5 separate regions of the Homo sapiens genome follow, and regions 2, 3, 4 and 5 are each linked to region 1. Evidence: promoter capture Hi-C in human tissues and cell types (Jung and others, 2019). All regions are on one chromosome and are shown on one strand. The core of a region is centred on a gene start or on the middle of the fragment in contact, and the rest is flanking DNA. Distances in the headings are between cores, read along the strand shown.

The links. The method cuts DNA at HindIII sites, captures the fragments that hold promoters and counts their contacts. A contact is called where the count stands out against the background at its distance.
Region 2: a contact is called between a fragment that was not itself captured here and the fragment with the promoter of DSG2 in region 1, in 1 of the 25 tissues and cell types used here (H1 embryonic stem cells).
Region 3: a fragment that was not itself captured here is called in contact with the fragment with the promoter of DSG2 in region 1 in 1 of the 25 tissues and cell types used here (H1 embryonic stem cells).
Region 4: a contact is called between the fragment with the promoter of DSC1 here and the fragment with the promoter of DSG2 in region 1, in 1 of the 25 tissues and cell types used here (H1 embryonic stem cells).
Region 5: a fragment that was not itself captured here is called in contact with the fragment with the promoter of DSG2 in region 1 in 2 of the 25 tissues and cell types used here (H1 embryonic stem cells and mesendoderm cells).

The regions. Positions count from the first base shown.
Region 1 is chr18:31,496,288-31,500,471 of GRCh38, reverse strand. It overlaps DSG2 (desmoglein 2), which reads right to left and starts at 2,295. Exons shown (of 15, transcript NM_001943.5): 1 at 2,176-2,295. The coding sequence starts at 2,220. RefSeq lists enhancers at 1-50, 2,766-2,905 and a silencer at 2,096-2,565. The HindIII fragment of the contact is 8,335 bases long and covers 396-4,184 here.
Region 2 is chr18:31,071,121-31,075,304 of GRCh38, reverse strand. DSC2 (desmocollin 2) reads left to right here. Exons shown (of 16, transcript NM_024422.6): 12 at 398-622; 13 at 3,464-3,700. It also overlaps the pseudogene LOC124904377. Among named protein-coding and RNA genes, the nearest start is that of DSCAS, 28 kb to the left of the region's middle. The HindIII fragment of the contact is 3,989 bases long and covers 1-3,753 here.
Region 3 is chr18:31,087,521-31,091,704 of GRCh38, reverse strand. It overlaps DSC2 (desmocollin 2), which reads left to right. Exons shown (of 16, transcript NM_024422.6): 4 at 558-677; 5 at 2,111-2,266; 6 at 3,892-4,036. Among named protein-coding and RNA genes, the nearest start is that of DSCAS, 12 kb to the left of the region's middle. The HindIII fragment of the contact is 6,527 bases long and covers 1-4,184 here.
Region 4 is chr18:31,161,102-31,165,285 of GRCh38, reverse strand. DSC1 (desmocollin 1) reads left to right here and starts at 2,430. Exons shown (of 16, transcript NM_024421.2): 1 at 2,430-2,754. The coding sequence starts at 2,692. It overlaps DSCAS (DSC1/DSC2 antisense RNA), which reads right to left. Exons shown (of 4, transcript NR_110785.1): 4 at 2,497-2,751. The HindIII fragment of the contact is 13,832 bases long and covers 1-4,184 here.
Region 5 is chr18:31,221,326-31,225,509 of GRCh38, reverse strand. No RefSeq gene overlaps it. Among named protein-coding and RNA genes, the nearest start is that of DSC1, 61 kb to the right of the region's middle. RefSeq lists an enhancer at 1-36. The HindIII fragment of the contact is 4,613 bases long and covers 1-4,100 here.

The DNA of each region.
Region 1 (4,184 bases), core at 1,046-3,545:
ACACCAAGAGGCAAGGTACAAGCATCCATGTTGTTATGCATCCTAGCAGATGTGGCATGCATGGGTCTGCAGCTGGTAGCAAAAGTAGCACCCTGATCACAGCAGTTTTTCAGACTGTGGGAGTGGCAGTGCAGTTCCTGGTCACAGGAGAGGCAGCAGCTCCCTAAGCGGTGTGGCTCTGCTGTGTGGCTTTGAAGTCATTACTGACAGCTCAAATGGCAGTCTTCTCAATCCTTCCTACACTTAGGTAGTCAGTTTAGTGCCCCGAAATAAACCTATTCTTGCTTTAAATAGCTAGAGTAAATTCCGTTATTTGCAACTGAACTCTGATCTAACAGACTACAATTTATATTCCTTCCAATAAAGGACCTGTTTCCTTGGCAACTACTTCTGTCAGATGAGTTGCTTTCCATTTTTTTTTTTTTTTTTTTTTTTACCAAAAAACTGCAACTGCAAACACACTGGGGGTAAAATGCTGCATTGCCCACTACTCTCTGGACAAAAATAAACATATTCAAATTTATACTGCAGAAAGTTTTATAGAAAATACATAGAACAGTCCAAGAATTTTGCTCCTGTTCCATTGGCTATAGTCGCTTTCTAAAGGAGATGTTTATTACTGCCCAATAAGGTAAAAGTATCAAATTGCTAAAATGAAAGATATGCCTAATTTGCTTACCTGCTACTCTGTGAGTGTACAAATTGGCCTGATTGCTACATTATTTGAAGATTAAAGGTCATTTATTTTCATATATGGAAAGAATATGTAACTCTCAAAGTAAGCTAGGTGTTACATTAGCTTGGGATTCTCCTTAAACAAGGAAACATCAAGGTGACAGGATTAGTTGTTTTGCCAGCCCAGAGGCTAAAAACGACGTCCCAGATCACGTCTTAGAAAAGTTTTGTCAACAAAATGAATTTTCATTGAAAGTTACCTCAAGGACACGGGGAAAATGAAATGGATAAATAGAGCATGAAAATGAACTGTGTGCTAGGCCTGGACGCCCTAATTATCATGCTCTTCCACCTGAGAGTTCATGGAAATCTCTAGACTGGATTCAGTCACGCCTTTTTCCGTTTTGAGACACACACACACACACACACACACACACACGATTTTCTTCCACATCCCACCAAAACTCGAGGATAGAAGGGCTCATGTTTTGGAAGTTAGAACTTTGAATATAGTGAATGTATTTGCATTTTTAATTATTACGTAAGAAAACTGAGTATGATTTTGCATCTAATCTCTGTAAACACATATTTGTGAACTCTCTGGAAGGTGAACTCACACCTATATTTGCAGCATAACTGTCACTTTATTAAAACCCCTTTAGTAAACCCCTATAAGCGAGATACATACGTGCAACCCCTTAAACAAACAGAAAACCAACAGTTTAAAATCCAATTTGAGCAAAAGAACTCTAAATCCAGGGACTGAACGTCGTTTCCGGGAGTGAGGGGTGGGGCGTGGGGGAGGGGGCGCTACACTTCCATTTTCTGTAACCTTTTAAATGAATAAGGCTTCAAACTATTACATATGTTTATTATCTTTAATATTGGAAAACTTTTGAAACACCAACTTCATAAACTTTAAGTTAAAACTATATGTGGGTGATCCACTTAAAATTAAGCTTTGTAAATTACACCTTTTTAAAAAATTTTTAGCCAACTTTTTGCACTCTAAGAATACAAGTATGTTCCTGGTTTCCCCAGTTCACTGGCTTGTGTCGGCGGCTAGAGGAGCTGGGGAATCCTAGGGAAATTTAAGGAACGTGGAAGAAGCGCGAGGTTGTTCCCTATTGCCTCCACGTTTCTCGTCCCAGAGACTCTCAACAAAGCCTCCGACCCCCAGCAATGGTGTTCCCCGCCCCAGGGCTCACTACACCCACACACCACAGAAAAGGGCGCTGGGGCCTGGGTGACGCGGGAAGGAAAACACAACTTCGATAGGTCGCAACTTACTCTCCTGGCTCCAGCCAAGAGGATTTTCCGAAGCCCCAGGTCGGATCTCGCCGCAGCCTGCCCGGCCCTTTTCCCCCCTCGGGCAGCAGGAAGGAGCGCCGGGCAGGTAACGCGCACAAGGGCGGCGGGCAAGTCTGGTCGCGAGGTCTAGACCTCGCCTACCGACGCCCTCCCCGGCGGTGGCTCCCCTGTCCCGCTTGCGGCACTTACCAGGAGAAGCAGCAGGGCGTACGCGCGTCCCGGGCTCCGCGCCATCGCACCCTCGCCTCCGCCTCCCGCCGCCGCACCGCTCCGCGCCGCCGCCTGCCCCGAGCGCGCACTCGGCTCCTCCCTGGCCCCGGCCTCCCCCCGGCCCGGCCACCCTCTCCCTCCCCGCCCCGAGGGCTGTCTTCCCGTGGCGGTTGCGCGGCCCAGCCCAGCCCAACCCAAAGGCGCGGCTCCAGGTGTGGCCGCCGCGAGAAAATGGAGCCGGGGGCCGGCCCGGGCCGCTTTTACAGAGGTGGGGAGTTCAGCAGAGGAGGGAGGCGCGGGGTGGACTCCCGCCCGCTCGCACTCGCACCTGGGACCGTGACGTCCTTGGGTTGGGGACTGTGGGTGGCAGGCCCCGCCCCGCCGTTCTCTCCTTCCCGACCCCCTACTCTCTGGAGAATGGCGGGAGGAGGGAGCCTCCTGGCGGGGCTCGACCTGGGTAGCGCGGGTCGCAGGGCCCCGGCCCAAGGACAAAAGCTCCACGGAGCAGAGTCCTGCGGGACCAACCGGCCCAGTGGCTGCGGGGCCAGGCCGCCCAGCACCGCCCAAAGGTCCCGCACTTTGTGATTGTGCTTTGGGCCCGGAGCGCAGGTGTCGCTAGTGACATGGGGACCCGTGTCCTCAGGAAAGCTGCGACCGCGGTGCGTTCGGCCCGCTCTCCTGGAGCGGAGGTTGTGGAGCAGAATTTCAGGTGGCTGTCTCCCCAAAGGCTGCTCTTCCCTATGGCCCTTCACTGCTTCCAACAGGTTTGCAGCTTATCTGGCTCAAGGAGAAACAATCACCAGAGGTCAAAAAGGACAATTCTTGGGCTAGGAGAAAACTCTAGGGTGTTACGGGAAATATATATATTCTTTGAAATGATTTACAATTTCTATTACACCACTAGCTAGATCAGAGGCCCCGCTCCAAGAGTGACTAGCTGAGTGGCCTGGACTAGCCTCTCTGGGCCCCAGTTTCCAGATCTGTCAAATGGAGTTAATAGCGACCAACGCACGGGGAAGTTTTGAGAACGAAATTGGAAAATCTTAGGTAAAGCATTCTGCAGTGTCTAGAACTTAAGGGTTCAATAAATAATTGTTAAAATTAGAACAACGTGATTGCGAGGTGAGATGTTAAATTGACATCTTGAAAAGCAGAAACTTAGTATGGGCATCCAAACACTAGAATCAGCACCGGATTACGAAACTTCCAAGAAATGTAACGACTGAAAGTAATGGACGAGCCTATTGTTCTGTGCGAGAAAGGCGCAAGGGGAGAAGAAAAGACACACACACCATACTTTTAAGGGTAAACAACCTTTATCCCAATTAAATGGCAACGCGGATATAATAAGCAAATGATATAATAAGCAAATTGCAATGGGAAGGGGAGAAGGAAAAGATATATTTATAGGTACACTCACCAGACTGTGGAGGATTCACCACCACACCGGGAAGCAACAGCCTGGGCTCCAGAGTCGGACACTACACTCACCAGACTACAGAGGATTCTCATGAAGTTTCCTCATGGTCTGGGACCCTAGCTCTTATCGTAACAAGTTGTTTGGCATGAGACCCAGTCACAAGGGCCCTTCCCGACTGGACTCAAGGAACACAAAAAGGTCAACTTGTGTTTGCGATTGTCTGTTGTGTTTCAATAACTAACAAATAGGAATTTAAATAGAGATTTATTTGAAACAGCGCTCGATGAATTCCTCAAGGGGCTCACACCACCTGTTCTGGGACTTGGTGGCCATTGTTTGTGTCCATGTTCAATTGAGTTCAAATTTAATATTTAAGTTTTCCTCCACATTCGGCTTCAATCTGATACTCAATCGCAGGAAAATACCCCTACAGATACATGGGGAAGGCATAGTTGATAGAGATTACAGATACAGGGTAAGCACAGGAGAATTAAAAGCAAAATTAATAACACACCCATCATGGCTTTGCAAGGAGAGTAATATTGTGAGAATTGTCAGGGATATACAC
Region 2 (4,184 bases), core at 510-3,009, 420 kb after region 1:
TTCTACCTGTCTACCTTCCCTGTCATTGTCTCCAGATCACGGGTGTGTATAACGTGCGTTTCCATCTCCTTGAATTTCCTTGTGCTTTTAAATATACCAGAAGTGTCCTCATTCATACTCTCTTCCTTCCTCTTCTCACAAATCAGCCAAAACTTGCCTCTAATAATAATTTAGCGAATGAATAAACACATCTTAATAGCAGTCATTGTTTGTACAACCCATATGAAAGTAATACTATTTTTCTTGTAACATTCCCTGAGGACATAGCTTGTGACTGCTTGTCATTGTAACTTCTACATTATAGGTGCTTAATAAATATTTTTCAATGTGTTCAGTGCATACTTTTGTGGTGAAAACTCAAAACATAGAAAAACTATTTTTATTTTCATTTTTCTAGGAGGGAGAACATGTACGGGGACACTGGGCATTATACTTCAAGACGTGAATGATAACAGCCCATTCATACCTAAAAAGACAGTGATCATCTGCAAACCCACCATGTCATCTGCGGAGATTGTTGCGGTTGATCCTGATGAGCCTATCCATGGCCCACCCTTTGACTTTAGTCTGGAGAGTTCTACTTCAGAAGTACAGAGAATGTGGAGACTGAAAGCAATTAATGGTATATATTTTTGAAAATTGCTTTGTCCTTTTCAACATCAGGATGTCTGCGATACTTTTTTTTTTTTGTATGAAATAGGAGAAAATTCACCATGTGGGAAACACCAATGAAAGTTTCTCAGTTTTTGTGTGTTGGGAGTAGGTCTCTCTAGTGTGTCTCTAATCCTATGCCGAGATTCCCTTAGGTGTGTTGTGAATTCTCCCTCCTACTCCAAACACACACACACACACACACACACACACACACACACACACACACACATTTTTTCTCTTTCTCTCTTTCTCTCTCTTAGACTTGGTCTAATGCAGTCATTTCCTAACTTGTGTACCTCTCACTGGCATAGATTTCTTTATAGTTTCCTGGGTCATAAGGGAGTCCTCATTTGTTACTGGTTGGCTCTCCAGAAAGCAGACCCTGAGGCAGGGCATCTCAAGCAGAATGATGACTAAGGAATTTGCTTGGGATCAGTAGCTTTGAAAGGAGGAGAAGTAGGATTGGGCAAAAAGAGAAGTCAAGCTGCAGCACAAGCCAAATGACAACCTCAGTGAACCCCAGGGGGAGTCTGAGCTAAATGGGCCTTCAGAGTGGTCCTGAATCGATCCCCTATTCTCTCTTATTGTTCCATCAGTGTATGTGGGCTGCCCATGGCAAAAAGGCACAATCCCGGAAGGTGCTGATGGCCTCCCAAGCAGCTGGGATGCAAGTCCTTCTTTGAAAAGGGATCAGATATACACCACAGTGTCCACCACGTTATCTCTCCTCTCTGCCACTGTATTGACTTCTGACTATTTCATGTCTATTGTATTCTCCTTGGGATTCTCCCCTAACTCGGTTCCCCATGTGTACTTTTGTCTTTAGCCCAGAAGGATCTACAGTGATAAGTATGGCAAAAATGAAGGCAACCTGTCTACATTATCACCACTGCCTCATTCCCTAGTTGGCGCGTAACTCTTCAGCATGTTCCCCATCTCCTGCTCACACTGCCTATGGACCATGATGTCATGGTCTACCAGCTTTCGTGACTCTAGAACCACTGAATGAGGCTTGCTTTTTAAATGCCCTTGAATGTTTTTCAGCCCCATGCTTTCAGTGAATATCCCTCAATTTCCTGTTATGACAAATTAGAAAAGAAAGGTTATGAGGGAACGTAAAGGGAGAACAGGATGGGGAAAAGAAAGATGAAGACTTATAGAAATAAGCTAAACTACTATGTCTTGGATCCTGCTCTGTGAACTAACAAGATTTTCAGCTTTCTAAACAATATTCTGTTGTGTGTGCGTGTGTGTGTGTGTGTGTGTGTGTGTGTGTGCGTGTGTGTGTATCGGGGTTATCAGTTTATTTTGGGGTGGGGAGGAAGAATTAACTTTATTCTTAGATTTTTTTCTTTTCTACTTATTTGGTGTCATGATATTAATTTTTAAATAGTGTTGATAGAAAGTGGACATTTTTTTTTCCCAATAGTCTTACTTAGCAAAATAAAACTTTGGCAGCTGTATGTTTGTCAACATCTTTGTTATTTTAAAGATGTACTTGTCTGAGTAATCACTTATAAGCTTGGGAAACACCCAAGTTTTAAGAAGAATATACCCTAAAGAGGCTTTGAAGTCAGTTAAGCTTAGTGTCAAAAACGCTGGTTCTTCCCTGTTTGTTAGTTAAGTAAATCTGACCGTGCTATTTATTGTCTTTGAGCATCAATTTACTAAAATGGGATTTTTGGGGGAGTAAATGAGATAATGCATGTAATACACCATGACACATTAGGAATTATAAGTTTTGGTTTTGCTAGTCTCATTATAATTTTTTACAAAATAGACTTAACAGGTTAACCATGGCTTCTCTTAAGATGGACTTAATTCAATGTGTTTTTACCCAAGCATTCAAATTTGTATTTAGAGCTTCAAATACTATGCAGAAAATGAGAATGTCATACTGGGCAGCTATGTGGGAGAGGGATTATTCTATGGGACCTGGTATCTGCATTTAGAGTAGTAGTATATCTAGTCTCCAAAACCAAGATTGTATTGGCTTCTAAATTTTTTTTAGTTTTTTATTGTTTTTTTCTTCTTCTAAATTCAAGTCATACAGGTAATGTACTGTTGTCGTAATAAGGTTTGAGAGACGTGTGTCTCACACATGAGCATAAAAACCCTATCATCATGCTTATGCACCATAAAAGCCATAAAAGAATCTGTATGGGCTTTCGGTTCTAGATATTTTCTAGCCTTTATCTAAGAAAACTACATCAAAACTAAGACACGTGCAGTTGGTCCCTTTGTCCTTTAGGACCAGGAGATGCAGCTGCAGCTGTGTGACTCATGACCTGCTAATGTAGTCACTGTCAGGGGTGTTTTAAGTTGTCAGAATTAGTCTCTGACAGTAAGTCACAAGTATTTATGTTTATTTGGCACAATTTTTGAAAATGAAGTAAAGGAAAACATCCAGAATTTCAGACTATTACTTCGATGAAGCATGTGTAAAAGAAAATGTACACTCACTGGTTTAATTAAATATTTTCAAGATATGGTAAAAACTAATCTATTAACAAGTCTATTAGTTGTGATAGGAAGGATTTGTTTACACACAAATAAAATATATTATTACAAGAGCCAAAAGACTTTGTTTAAGAGGCAGCATAGACAAACTTTTATATGTAATATGTTTGCAATGGGTATAGATTAGAACTACTCTAGCCATTCACATTTAGAATCTTCTAGCAGCTATGCCATCCCATCAGGAATATCTGTTTCTAGGAAAATATAACTATCTGATAATGAGTTATTTATGTTCAGAAGAAATCAGTGACATTGTATAATGTTTGGTTTTATTTATTTATATTTTCAGATACAGCAGCACGTCTTTCCTATCAGAATGATCCTCCATTTGGCTCATATGTAGTACCTATAACAGTGAGAGATAGACTTGGCATGTCTAGTGTCACTTCATTGGATGTTACACTGTGTGACTGCATTACCGAAAATGACTGCACACATCGTGTAGATCCAAGGATTGGCGGTGGAGGAGTACAACTTGGAAAGTGGGCCATCCTTGCAATATTGTTGGGCATAGCATTGCTCTTTTGTAAGTCTTAAGTCCTTTCTTGAATTCAAATAATACCCTTTAAAGTAACTTTCAAGACACTTTTTGTTTTTTGAGACAGAGCCCAGGCTGGAGTGCAGTAGTGTGATCTCCGCTCACTGCAGACTCTGCCTCTGGATTCCAGTGATTCTTATGCCTCAGCCTCCCGAGTAGCTGGGATTACAGGTGTGCGCCACAATGCCCAGCTAATTTTTTCTACTTTTAGTAGAGATGGATTTCACTGTGTTGGCCAGGCCAGTCTCTATCTCCTGGCCTCAAGTGATCCCCCCACCTCGGCCTCTCAAAGTGCTGGGATTACAGGCGTGAGTCAACACACCTGGCAACTTTCAAGACACATTCTAAGAATCAGTGCTATTTCCTATAGCTGATCATTTGCATGTAGCTGTATTTTTATTTAATATATAAATATATTTAATTTACATATTTTAAGTGCATTTATGTATAGTTCTAGTGTCTTAGTTATTAT
Region 3 (4,184 bases), core at 837-3,336, 410 kb after region 1:
AGGAGGAGGTTTGGACCACATGCATGCTATTGTGTTGTGACACCCAAGATCAAAATAACTTGTATTCAACCATTAGCCATTCCTCACTGCAGCAGTTTGAGAGTTGTCACCGTGTTTCTCTCCTCATTCTGACACAGATCTCTCTGTTGGTTCCCTGGCTCTGCCTAGTTGCTGGTGAGTGGAAGTTGCTTGTGCTAAATTTAGAAGGGCACATACACACTTATTTTCTTTGCATATCTCTCTCCCATGTTTTTGCATGGCAATGGGGCAACAGTAATTTTTTTTTCAGTTTTGCTTCTAGGCTTCCAGTTCCATCTCTCTTTCTTCCATATTTCCACCAAATCATTTTCCCAAGAGGATTGTTGTGATAACAGTTAGGACAGTTACTTCTTCATTATCTTTTTGCAGTGTTGATGATTAGTTTGGTTTTCAAGCACTCCCATGGTCTCACCCCTACCCAGCTAATCCTCCTGAGAGGAGAAAGATGTGTCATTGTTTAATGTTTGAGAATAAAGTAGTCATTGACTTTATTATTTTTTCCTGTCTTATGAATTGAGGTCCTAAAGAAAAGACATACTAAAGAAAAAGTTCTAAGGCGCGCCAAGAGAAGATGGGCTCCAATTCCTTGTTCGATGCTAGAAAACTCCTTGGGTCCTTTTCCACTTTTCCTTCAACAGGTACCGTTTTCTTTCTTTCTGCTGTGGGAGTCTATAGTTTCCATCTCTTACCATTATGACACTGAGTATGAAGTTATTTGTAATAGTTGTGTATAAATATGTGAGTGAATGAGTATGTGTATAATATGTTTCCATATAAGGGTATAAATATATCTCTTTATACTTGCATACACTTTTGTTCAGCTTGCAAAGGCCAAGCATAAAACTGTGGCACTCAGACACATGGTTCCTTAATGAATTGTCACATCAGCAAGGGTATCGCCAAGCCTAAGAATAGCTAGAAAACCCAAAACTCTCTTGCATAATAAAGGAGAAAATTGGATGAAAGACCAAATGCCACGAAGGAGGAAGACACATAGGCCCTTCTATCTTTCTATTTCTTGTTCTTGAATCTACATCTGAAATCACACTGGATCCACATTTCTTTCTCTCTCTCTCTGTCTCTGTCTCTTTTTGTTTCTTTTTTTTTGTAGCGATGAGATCTCACTATGTTGCTTAGGCTGGTTTTGAACTCCTAGGCTGAAATGATCTCCCATCTCAACCTCCCAAAATGCTGGGATTACAGGCATGAGCCAAGCATACCTGGCTCTTTTTCTCTGTCTTGTTTTAACTTTCAGTAGAAACCCCAGCAAGCCTTCTTGCCTTCTTCCATTACTGGTGGCTACTACATTCAGTCTATGACTTTGGTTTATTTTCCCTCAGTTCTTGACATAGCAAGGGAGAATCCTTTTTATACCCCACCAACAAATTTAATACAGCTGAGAGAAGAGCATATTAAAGTTGAGAAATTGTTAGAAAACAGTTGTGTCAGTTATCCTGATATAAAGATAGGATGTTACTGAGAGGATGAACACAGCTTGGAGGAAATTTGCTTTTCGAATCAAGGATCAGAATATTACACATTCCAAAATATTATTCCATTTCTATTCTCACTCATATTTTTTTTTTTACTCAGTTCCTATAAGGAAGATGTTGGCAAAGAACAAAAAACTCATTAAGGAAATTATTGTCCACATTTTTGCCCTGCAGACAGTACACTTTAAACTCGGTTCTTAAATGTTATGTTACATATAATAAAAACTCAGTTTTTTAAAACATTGACGACAGAATAATTTTCCATGCTCAGAATACTTTGTTTTCTAAGACAGGAAGAGTCTTAAGTGTTTTTTCCATGTATAGACACCATCTAGCCTGTCAAATATTCCTTTAGTTATTCTGGAGAACTAAGATGCACTACATTATTTTACTCATGCCTTGCTCTTGAAATTTCTCAATTGGACTTTCTTATTCTATTGCTGTTTTAATTTATATATAATAATAAATTAAGGGCAATTATTTAAACTAATAAAATGGCAATGAGATTTCATAAATATATAGATGAAAGCTCTGCTGAAATAAAGATTTGTCTCATGTATATAATATCTACTTTCTAGGTTCAATCTGACACGGCCCAAAACTATACCATATACTATTCCATAAGAGGTCCTGGAGTTGACCAAGAACCTCGGAATTTATTTTATGTGGAGAGAGACACTGGAAACTTGTATTGTACTCGTCCTGTAGATCGTGAGCAGTATGAATCTTTTGAGGTAAAGTCTAAAATGTGTGTACTGTATTAGCAATGATGATGCTTGGCCATTTTGTCTCTCATTTGCAATTCACGTAACCTTTTCTGCTTTCTGAGTTTGTCACCAATGCTCTGGCTACTCCCTAATAGCACATAATTGACTTGAAACAAAAAATATTTTCATAGAATAAATAATATTGGATTCCATTAGATTGTTCCTGGTATTATGGTTTTACTATTTTTTTTTCCCCCACAACAGTACCACTTTGAAGAACAGTTTTTTTTTTTTTTTTTTTGAGACAGCATCTCACTTTGCCACCCAGGCTGAAGTGCAGTGGCGTAATCTCGGCTCACTGCAATCTCTGGCTCCGGGGTTCAAGTGATCCTCCCACCTTAGCCTCCTGAGTAGCTGGGATCACAGGCACGCACCATGATACCCAGCTAATTTTTTGTATTTTTAGTAGAGATGGGGTTTCACCATGTTGGCCAGGCTGGTCTCAAGCTCTTGACCTCAGGTGATCTGCCCATGTCGGCCTCCCAAAGTGCTGGGATTACAGGACTGAGCCACCGTGCCCGGCCAAGAACAGTTACTTAGTTGGCACAAAAAGATCTGTGAACCTCTTTATAGTATGGAGATATCATAGGAGGTAAATGAAGTTCAGTCATTAAGTAAACCTCAGTACCCTGGCAATGGGAGAGCATTAGTTTATGGGGAGCAGGTAGGGGGTGTGACAGTGCTTACCTAAGCTTACTCAGTCCTTTAATCATCTGGTTAATTTCCTATGCTGGAAAGTGAGTTAATATGAAAGAATTTAACCTAATGCTGGTTTGATTTCCCAACAGGACTTGGTCATTTTGCTTAAGTCAGTTTTAATTATTTTATGTCTATTTTGGATGAATTAATTATTCATTAGAAGACCAAATTAATCAAATAAGACAGGCAAGCTTTGAATAAAGTATTTAGGTTTAGAATTGCCATGGCCTGGCCTTCTGAGTACCTAGGATGTTCTGGCCTTTCTATGATAGCTGTTATGAGAAAATTGGTATTGAAATTCATATTATAAAAACAAAAAAATTAAACTGTATTCCACCACAGTTTACCACCATTCATTTGTTTCATTTCTGATTCACCCTTTTTAAATTAAAAATTCTTTGAAAAGACTTACCCAAATGTAACCATTGATATGCCTAAAGTCCTCATTAGTAGAAAATAGGATAATATCCCAGTTAACTGTACCTGGGTAATCCTACAGGATCCCAAGTTCAGAAAGATCCAGAAAGTTGTATTTAAAATCCATGCACCTGAACCTTTCAAACAAAGCAAAATAAAGAAGTCTTCAAGGCTGTTTGGGAAAATAACAGTAAAAATTGTTACACTCATGAATAACAGTATAGCAATAATGAAGAAACTAAAATTATCTTTCATAAATTTAAAGAGATAAATTTAAACATACAATGCCATATTGAATCATGAAATTAGGCACCTCTTTGGCATTAAAATTATATCCATATCCCAGAACAATAACAAATGGTGAGACTCATACTGTAGTTCTGAACAGTCTCCAAGTTAAAGCCAAAATGAATTTGAAGCATACCTCATTTTAAAAGATTATTTTCACTTTTCTCCTTATTTTACTCTCTTCACAGATAATTGCCTTTGCAACAACTCCAGATGGGTATACTCCAGAACTTCCACTGCCCCTAATAATCAAAATAGAGGATGAAAATGATAACTACCCAATTTTTACAGAAGAAACTTATACTTTTACAATTTTTGAAAATTGCAGAGTGGGTGAGTACCTCCTTAAACAATATATGGCAAATTAACTGTGTTTCAATTCATACATTTAGTTTCACTATGTCCGTTGAGAAGCAGCGTATCCCAGCAGCAAGAATAAGGGACTCTGGGTGGAATTTTACTCTGTGTTTCACTAGCTGTG
Region 4 (4,184 bases), core at 1,181-3,680, 340 kb after region 1:
TACTGCGAATAAGTAGTAAAGAGAGGATTTGCACCCAGGCAGTCTAGCTTCTAAGTCCAAGTTGTTAACCACTAACAATCTTTTGCTTAAGCTTATTAATTTAGACATAGGTTAAAACAAACAAACATACAGATAGAAATAAAAATAAAATAGAGCTTGCAGTGGTTTGAATGTCCCTGCCAAAAGTCATGTTGAAATTTTGTTGCCGTTGTAATGGTGTTAGGAGGTGGGACCTTTAAAAGTTGATTATGCCATGAAGTCCCCACCCTCGGGAGTGGGTTAGTTATCATCAGAGTGGACTTCTGATAACTGGATAAGTTAGGCCACTTCCCTGTCTGTCTTGTGCACTGGCTTCTGTCTTCTGCCTTCCATCATGGGATGACCCTCATCAGATGCCCATGCCATGCTCTTGGACTTTCCAGGCTCCTGAACCATGAACCAAACAAATTTCTGTTTTTGTTTTGTTTTGTTTTTTAATAAATTACCCAGGCTATGGTATTTCTTTACAGCAGCAGAAAACAGACTAAGACAGAGCTCTTACTGAATGATCTAATGCCAGAAAATTGGAAGAAATATGTCTTGTTTTCATTTAATTTTAAGGTAGATTCACGTTTAAGGAAGAGTCAATAATTTGTAATAATAAATTATTTTTTCCTATAAAGTGCCTATATTTTATTTTTAGGAAACCTTTGTGTGCAAATACAAAATATGGGAGAAATAGTAATGTAACAGATTTGCAAACCAATAATTTGGGGTTAGCTTTTACACAAGTTTTTCTATTACCTTTGAGAAAGATAGATAATGGGAAAAGAGAGCACGCAGAAAGTAGGCCAAAAGAAGTAGGATCAGAACATCAACTTCCCAGAACTGTGGAGAGTATTCTGGATTCATTTGAATTGAGCAGTGCCTGGAATCTCTTCATCCAACCAATATATGCCATTTTTTCAGTAACACCAATTTAATTTTGCTCTTCTATATCTTCCTAGTTCAGTGGAGAATATCATGTTATAGAAAAAGGTAATGATAACTTCATTAGCTGAAAAAAATGTGTTTCTATTTTCTAGGGTTGGAGAATTTGTCTTTGAATTATTTAAGCTGTATGACTATCTATTTATCTGTCTATCTATCTATCTAAATATATACTTAGATGATGCTTAAACATGCACAGAATTACACTTGGCTGTACACATATACATCTAAGTAATTTTTCTATTTCTATATTCCCATTCTTTTCTCCCAAAACGCCAGATATAAAAATATTCCATTAAAATGACTGTATTTTCTGATTGAGAAATCAAATTCCAATGCAGTCACAAAATATGTTTATTAGTGGGTATACCACTAGCAATAAAATACTACAAGATATCTTTTAGTTTTTTTTCTCCTGGGTCATTCATTTTCCAAATCTTCCTAGCTTCTAATTCTAATGAAGCAGTTACATTTATTTCTGTCTCTACATACAAGGAGAAATTGTTCCCATTGTCAAATAAGCTGAAGAAAACCTTTCTTTCCTCCCTTCTCAGCAGCATGGGTGTTGGGCTCTACCTTAACATTTGAAAATATTTATCCTTCTGTCCTAACTTCCATCACTGCCATTGAGTGCAATTGGTATCACTGAGCTCACTAATTTGGGACAGGAATAATGATGCTAAAGCTCTTGTTAGAGGAATCATTAGGGTTTAAAAAAATCTACACTTGATGGCCTGATTGTACTATTAAGCTAGGATATCCTATGTGTAATGTACAAGTAATTAGGGTGAATAGAGTGATTTTAGAGAGACTTGCTCTCAAAGATTGTAGTTGTCCTTGAAAAAATATAAAGGTAAAAAGCAGTGGCATCTTGTACAACAAAAGGAAAGCCACAAGAAAGATTATATGCTAGCTATTTCTTTATTCTCTTTCTTTTATGAAGTCTTTACATTCTGATAAGTTTCCTGTGACATCTAGAGAACCAACCACAGTGAATAGTCAATAACAGGAAGTAGATACCATGCCTTTATGAAGTTGCTGCTTTAAACTGGAATGCCAGTTCTCTAGCAGAACTACAGTGTTCTACAGGACCGATGACACTTAAATGCTTAGATGGGAGATAACTTCTGATGAGTGTGATTACACACGCTTAGGTCCTCTGATTTGCCAATGGCAGTTGAGGAGGCATCACTTCCTTGCATGGCGTTTGTGCACAATTTATGTTTGTACCCGAGGGCAAGACAGGTTAATAAGGCCAAGAAGGAGGGGAGGCTGTGGGAGTGGGTAATAACTGGGGAGGACTTCACAGCATCAACCTGGGGGAAAGGGAGGAGGGCTGAGGATGAAGGGTGTTCCCTCCTCCTTCTGCCTATGTGTTAAGTGGCAAGAGAAATTTTGAAAGCTGCTGTGAGGAGGAGCTACTGACTGGGTTTTGGGGTGTTTTGTACCCCACCCTCCTCACTTGTAGGAAAGCCTCTTTGCATTTAGACGTAATTGAACTGGAAGGAAGGAGACTGGCCAGGGAATAGGGGGAAAGAAATTCTCCCGTTGCTCCTCCTACTGTTTATCACTTGCCTCCGGACTGTCTTCCAAACCAAGCTCAGCTGCATCAAGGTGGCAGCAGAATACCCTGTGCAAGTGCCAGCGTCTTCTTAGCCGCTCTGTGCATCCCAGGCTGCCCTGTTATCTGGCCACCGTCCCTGGCCATTGGGACTGCTTCTGATGGCTCTGGCCTCTGCTGCCCCAGGGAGCATCTTCTGTAAGCAGCTCCTTTTCTCTCTCCTGGTGAGTAACAACCAAAGGATTAGGGAATTCAAGCATGTTACTACCTGCTTCCTCTCTGCAGTTTGGGCTTGAAAGAGACTAGGAGTGAGGATGGGAGGCAGAGAAGAGAGATTGGGGAAAACAAAAGCAGATCTGAGGAAGATTCAGGGAAGAGTTGAGAGGCTTGGGATTCAGGATGGAAAGTGTTCAGCTTACTTCTCAAGCACCCACTGCCAGAGTGTTAAAAGTTTTCAAGGGAATCCCTCTTCCATCCTGCTGTGGTGATTTTCTAAGAGTAGAGAAGTGAATTCATTCTTTAGGCATTTGGCCCAGAAGTTTCTGAGGTTTACTTCTGCTACCAGTGATTACATAAACTCATGTTATTTAACATGCTGAGTTCTACTAAGCTGCAAAAAAAGAGAAAGGATTCTGGGTGAACATGCAAATTATCCAGGACTTTTTGAATTTTACCCACGAAGCAGTTTAAGCAAAGAATAGTTTAAGAAAAATAACAAAAATGTGACTGTCATTGAAAATATCCTCAACTTGGCTTCCACTTGGGTTTTTAATAGCTTTGTAACTGTGTAAGGTGCTATTTTTTCTTTGGAGGTGAGGGAAGAGAGGGGGGTTATTTCACACATCCGTCCATCATTTCTGAGGTGTGAGTTTCCTATTTTTTCATTTTAGCAAAATACTTGAGTTTCAAAATATATTTTTAGAAATGGCAGGTATGAGGACAAACATTTTCTCCATGTAAATAATATACAATGCAGGGTTGATGGTCACCTTCTCATCCTGTAACTGCTTAGGGAGACGATAACTCAGATACCATCTTAAGTTAGTACAAGTTTGGTAAAATGTGGTAAAAATGTTTCAAAGGATTCTACCCACATTTCTTTTGCTTCTGATCCCTGTACTGTCTAATATCTCTTGGACAATTCATCTCCTGTTTATTTATTTCTGACTCTGAAACTGACTAAAAGGGTGTCACTAAGCCACTTAGTCAGTGATTTAACCTGAAGACGGGAATAGTATTTAATGAATGGAAACCTTCAGTGGCTCTGCCTGCAGAGGGAGGACCATCAACATGGAATCCTAGGACAAGAAGGAAAGAAGATGGGGGTGGGAGTGGAAGTGTGGATATAACTATAAGAATGTCTCATATATTTATATATATATATGTACATTTATATATATATACACACACGCACATATACAGTCATGCTCTGCAAAACAATGCCTCAGTCAATGATGGACTACATATATGAGTGGTCCCATAGATTATAATGGAGCTCGTCTGTATAGGTGAACCATTTTTTATCTTTTATATTGTATTTTAATGTACTTTTTCTATATCTAAAAATGTTTAGTTACACAAATACTTACAATTGCCTACAGTATTCAGTAGAGGAACATGCTGTACAGGTTTGTAGCTTACAATAAGCTATACT
Region 5 (4,184 bases), core at 545-3,044, 270 kb after region 1:
AATTCAGATATGTTACTTAAAAACAACAGGTAGGCAAACAACAACAAAATCCACACACACACACGCCCAACAAAAAACCCTCAGAGAAAAAGAAAGTGATAATCCAGAGTTGCTACAATATATTATCCGAATTGTCTAGTTTTCTACAAAAGTTTATAAAGCATGCAAGAACACAAATAGGAAAATGTAAATTATACTTAGCATAAAAACAGCCAGTGAAAACTGTCTCTGAGTGGGTCTAAATGTTGCATTTAGCAGACAAAAATTTCTAATTAGATATGATAAATATCTTTGAAGAACTTAAGAGGTCAGTATACACATGTTCAAAGAACTAAAGGAAATGTGGTGGCAATTGCTAAAAAGTGGGAACTATTAATAAAGAAAAAGAATCTACTAGAAAAAACAAAGTGGAAATTCTAGAGTTGAAAAATATGTAAATATTGGCTGGGTGCGGTGGCTCACACCTGTTATCCCAGCACTGTGGGAGGCTAAGGCAGGCGGATTGCTTGGGTCCAGGAGTTCGAGACCAGCCCTGGGCAACATGACAAACTCTGTCTCTACAAAACATACTAAAATTGGCCCAGTGTGGTGGCATGCACCTGTAGTCCCAGCTACTCAGCTACTAGGGATGCTGAGATGGGGGAATTGCTTGAGCCTGGAGACCGAGGTTGCATTGAGCTGAGATCAAACCACTGCACTCCAACCTGAGCAACAGAGCAATACCTTGTCTCAAAAAGAAAAAAAAAAAAAAAAGAAAAATATGAAAATGTCTCTAAATGCATTTTTTGAAATATTCAAAAAACTGGAAGCAATTTAATTATCCATCAACTAGTAAGTGACTAAGCAAAATATGCTGTATACACACACATACACACATATTCAATTATATACAAGTTTATTCCTTTTTGATGCTCAGTAGTATTCAATTGTATTCAATCATATATAAGTGAATACTACTGAGCATTAAAAAGGAATAAACTTGTATACATAAATACTCTATAGGAATAAGCAAATACAGGCAAAGAAGCTTTTTGTTTTTGTTTTTGTTTTTTGAGACTGAGTCTCTCTCTATCACCCAGGCTGGAGTGCAGTGGCACTGTCTTGGCTCACCGCAACCTTTGCCTTCCAGGTTCAAGCACTTCTCATGCCTCAGCCTCCCAAGTAGCTGCGATTACAGGCACCCACCACCACGCCCAACTAACTTTTGTATTTTGATAGAGACAGGGTTTCACCATATTGGCCAGGCTGGTCTCGAACTCCTGATCTCAAGTGATCCACCTACCTCGGCCGCCCAAAGTGCTGAGATTACAGGCGTGAGCCACCAGGCCGGCTGGCAAACAGGTTTAAATAATGTGTTTGTAATATCTTTTAGAGAATGTGTACACATCAGAATGGGTGACATTATGCTGTGGTAAGAAACAACCTGGATGATTTATGATTTAAATCAGGGGTCCGCAAACTTTTTGGCACCAGGGAGCAGTTTTGTGGAAGATGGTTTTTCCATGGATGGGGTGGTGGGTGGTGGGGATGGTTTGGCGATGGTTCAAGTGCATTACATTTATTGTGCACTTTATTTCTTTAATTGTTACATTGTAATATTAATATATAATGAAAGAATTATACAACTTACCATAATGTAGAATCAGTAGGAGCCCCGAGCTTGTTTTCCTGCAACTAGACGGTCCCATCTGGGGGTGATGGGAGACAGTGAAAGATCATCAGGCAGTAGAGTCTCATAAGGAGCGCACAACCTAGATTCCTCACATGTACAGTTCACAGTAGGGTTCGAGCTGCTATGAGAATCCAGTGTTGCTGCTGATCTGACAGGAGGCCAAGTTCAGGTGGTAATGTGAGTGACGGGAAAGGCTGTAAATACAAATGAAGCTTCACTTGTTTGCCCGCTGCTTATCTCCTGCTGTGTGGTCGAGTTCTTAACAGGCCACAGACCAGTACCGGTCTGTGGCCTAGGCACTGGGACTTGTATACAATTGTACACTGCTGCTTCTACCAGCAGTGTAAAAGTGTTTCCTTTTCACCACATCCATGCTAAAATCTATTTTTTTTTATTTTTAAATGATGGCCATTCTTGCAGGAGTAAGGTGGTATAGCATTGTGGTTTTAATTTGCATTTCTCTGGTAATTAGTGATGCTGAACATTTTTCATATGTTCGTTGGCCATTTGTATATCTTCTTTTGAGAACCCTCTATTCATGTCCTTAGTCCACTCTTTGATAGAATTGTTCCTTTTTTTCTTGCTGATTTGTTTGAGTTCCTTGTAGATTCTGGATATTAGTCCTTTGTTAGATGCATAGTTTGCAAATATTTTCTCCCACTCTATGGATTGTCTGTTTACTCTGCTGATTATTTCTTTTGCTGTGTAGAAGATTTTTAGTTTAATTAAGTCTCATCTATTTATTTTTGCTTTTTTTGCATTTGCTTTTGGGTTCTTGACCATGAACTCTTTGCCTAAGCCAATGTCTAGAAGAGTTTTTCTGATGTTATCTTCTAGAATTTTTATGGTTTCAGGTCTTAGATTTAAGTATTTAATCCATCTTGAGTTGATTTTTGTGTAAGGTGAGAGATGAGGATCCAGTTTCATTCTTCTACATGTGGCTTGCTAGTTATTCCCGCACCATTTGTTGAATAGGGTGTCCTTTTCCCACTTTATGTTTTCATTTGCTTTGTCAAAGATCAGTTGGCTTTAAGTATTTGGCTTTATTTCTGGGTTCTCTATTATCTTCCATTGGTCTACATGCCTATTTTTATACCAGTACCATGCTGTTTGGGTAACTATAGCCTTGTACTATATTTGAATTTGGGGAATGTGATGCCTCCAGATTTGTTCTTGCTTTGGCTATGTGGGTTCTTGTTTGGCTCCATATGAATTGTAGGATTGTTTTTTCTATCCCTGTGAAGAATGGTGATAGTATTTTGATGGAAATAGCATTGAATTTATAGATTGCATTTGGCAGTATGGTCATTTTCACAATATTGATTCTAGCCATCCATGAGCATGGGATATGTTTCCATTTGTTTGTGTCATCTGATTTCTTTCAGCAGTGTTTTTTAGTTTTCCTTGTGGAGATCTTTCCCTTCCTTGGTAAGGCATATTCCTAAGTATTTTTTATTCTTCGCAGCTATTGTAAAAGGGGTTGAGTTCTTGATTTGACTCCCAGCTTGGTCAATATTGGTGTATAGCAGTGCTACGGATTTGTGTACATTGATTTGTATCTTGAAACTTTACTGCATATTTATCAGATCTAGGAGCTTCTTGGATGAGTCTTTGGGGTTTTTTTGTTTGTTTTTTGTTTTTTAGTTTTTTTTTTTTTTTTTTTTTTTTTTTTTTTTGGAGATGGAGTTTCTCTCTTATTGCCCAAGCTGGAGTGCAATGGCACTATTTTGGCTCACTGCAACCTCTGTCTTCTGGGTTCGAGTGATTCTCCTGCCTCAGCCTCCCTAGCAGCTGGGATTACAGGCATGTGCCGCCATGCCTAGTTAATTTTGTATTTTTGGTAGAAACGAGGTTTCACCATGTCAGCCAGACTGGTCTCAAGCTCCTGACCTCAGGTGATCCACCCACCTTGGCCTCCTAAAGTGCTGGGATTACAGGTGTGAGCCACCATGCCTGGCCGTCTTTGGGACTTTCTAAGTATACCATCATATTGTTGGTGAACAGTGACAGTTTGACGTCATATTTACTCATTTGGATGCACTTTATTTCTTTCTCTTGTCTGATTGCTCTGGCTAGGACTTCCAGTACTGTGTTGAATAGAAGTGGTGAAACTGGGTATCCTTGTCTTGTTCCATTTCTCAGGGGGAATGTTTTCAATTTTTCTCCATTCAGTTTAATGTTGGCTGTAGGTTTGTCATAGATGGCTTTTATTACCCTGAGGTATGTGCCTTCTATGCTGATTTTGTTGAGTGTTTTAATCATAAAGGGATGCTGGATTTTCTCAAATGCTTTTACTGTGTCTCTTGGGATAATCATAAGAATTTTGTATTTAATTCAGTTTATGTGATGTCTCACATTTATTGACTTCGTGTGTGTTAAAGTATCCCTGCATCCCTGGTATGAAACCCACTTGATCATGATGTATTATCTTTTTGATATGCTGTTGGATTTGGCTAGCTAGTATTTTGTTGAAGATTATTGCATCTTGGTTCATCAGAGATATTGGTCTGTA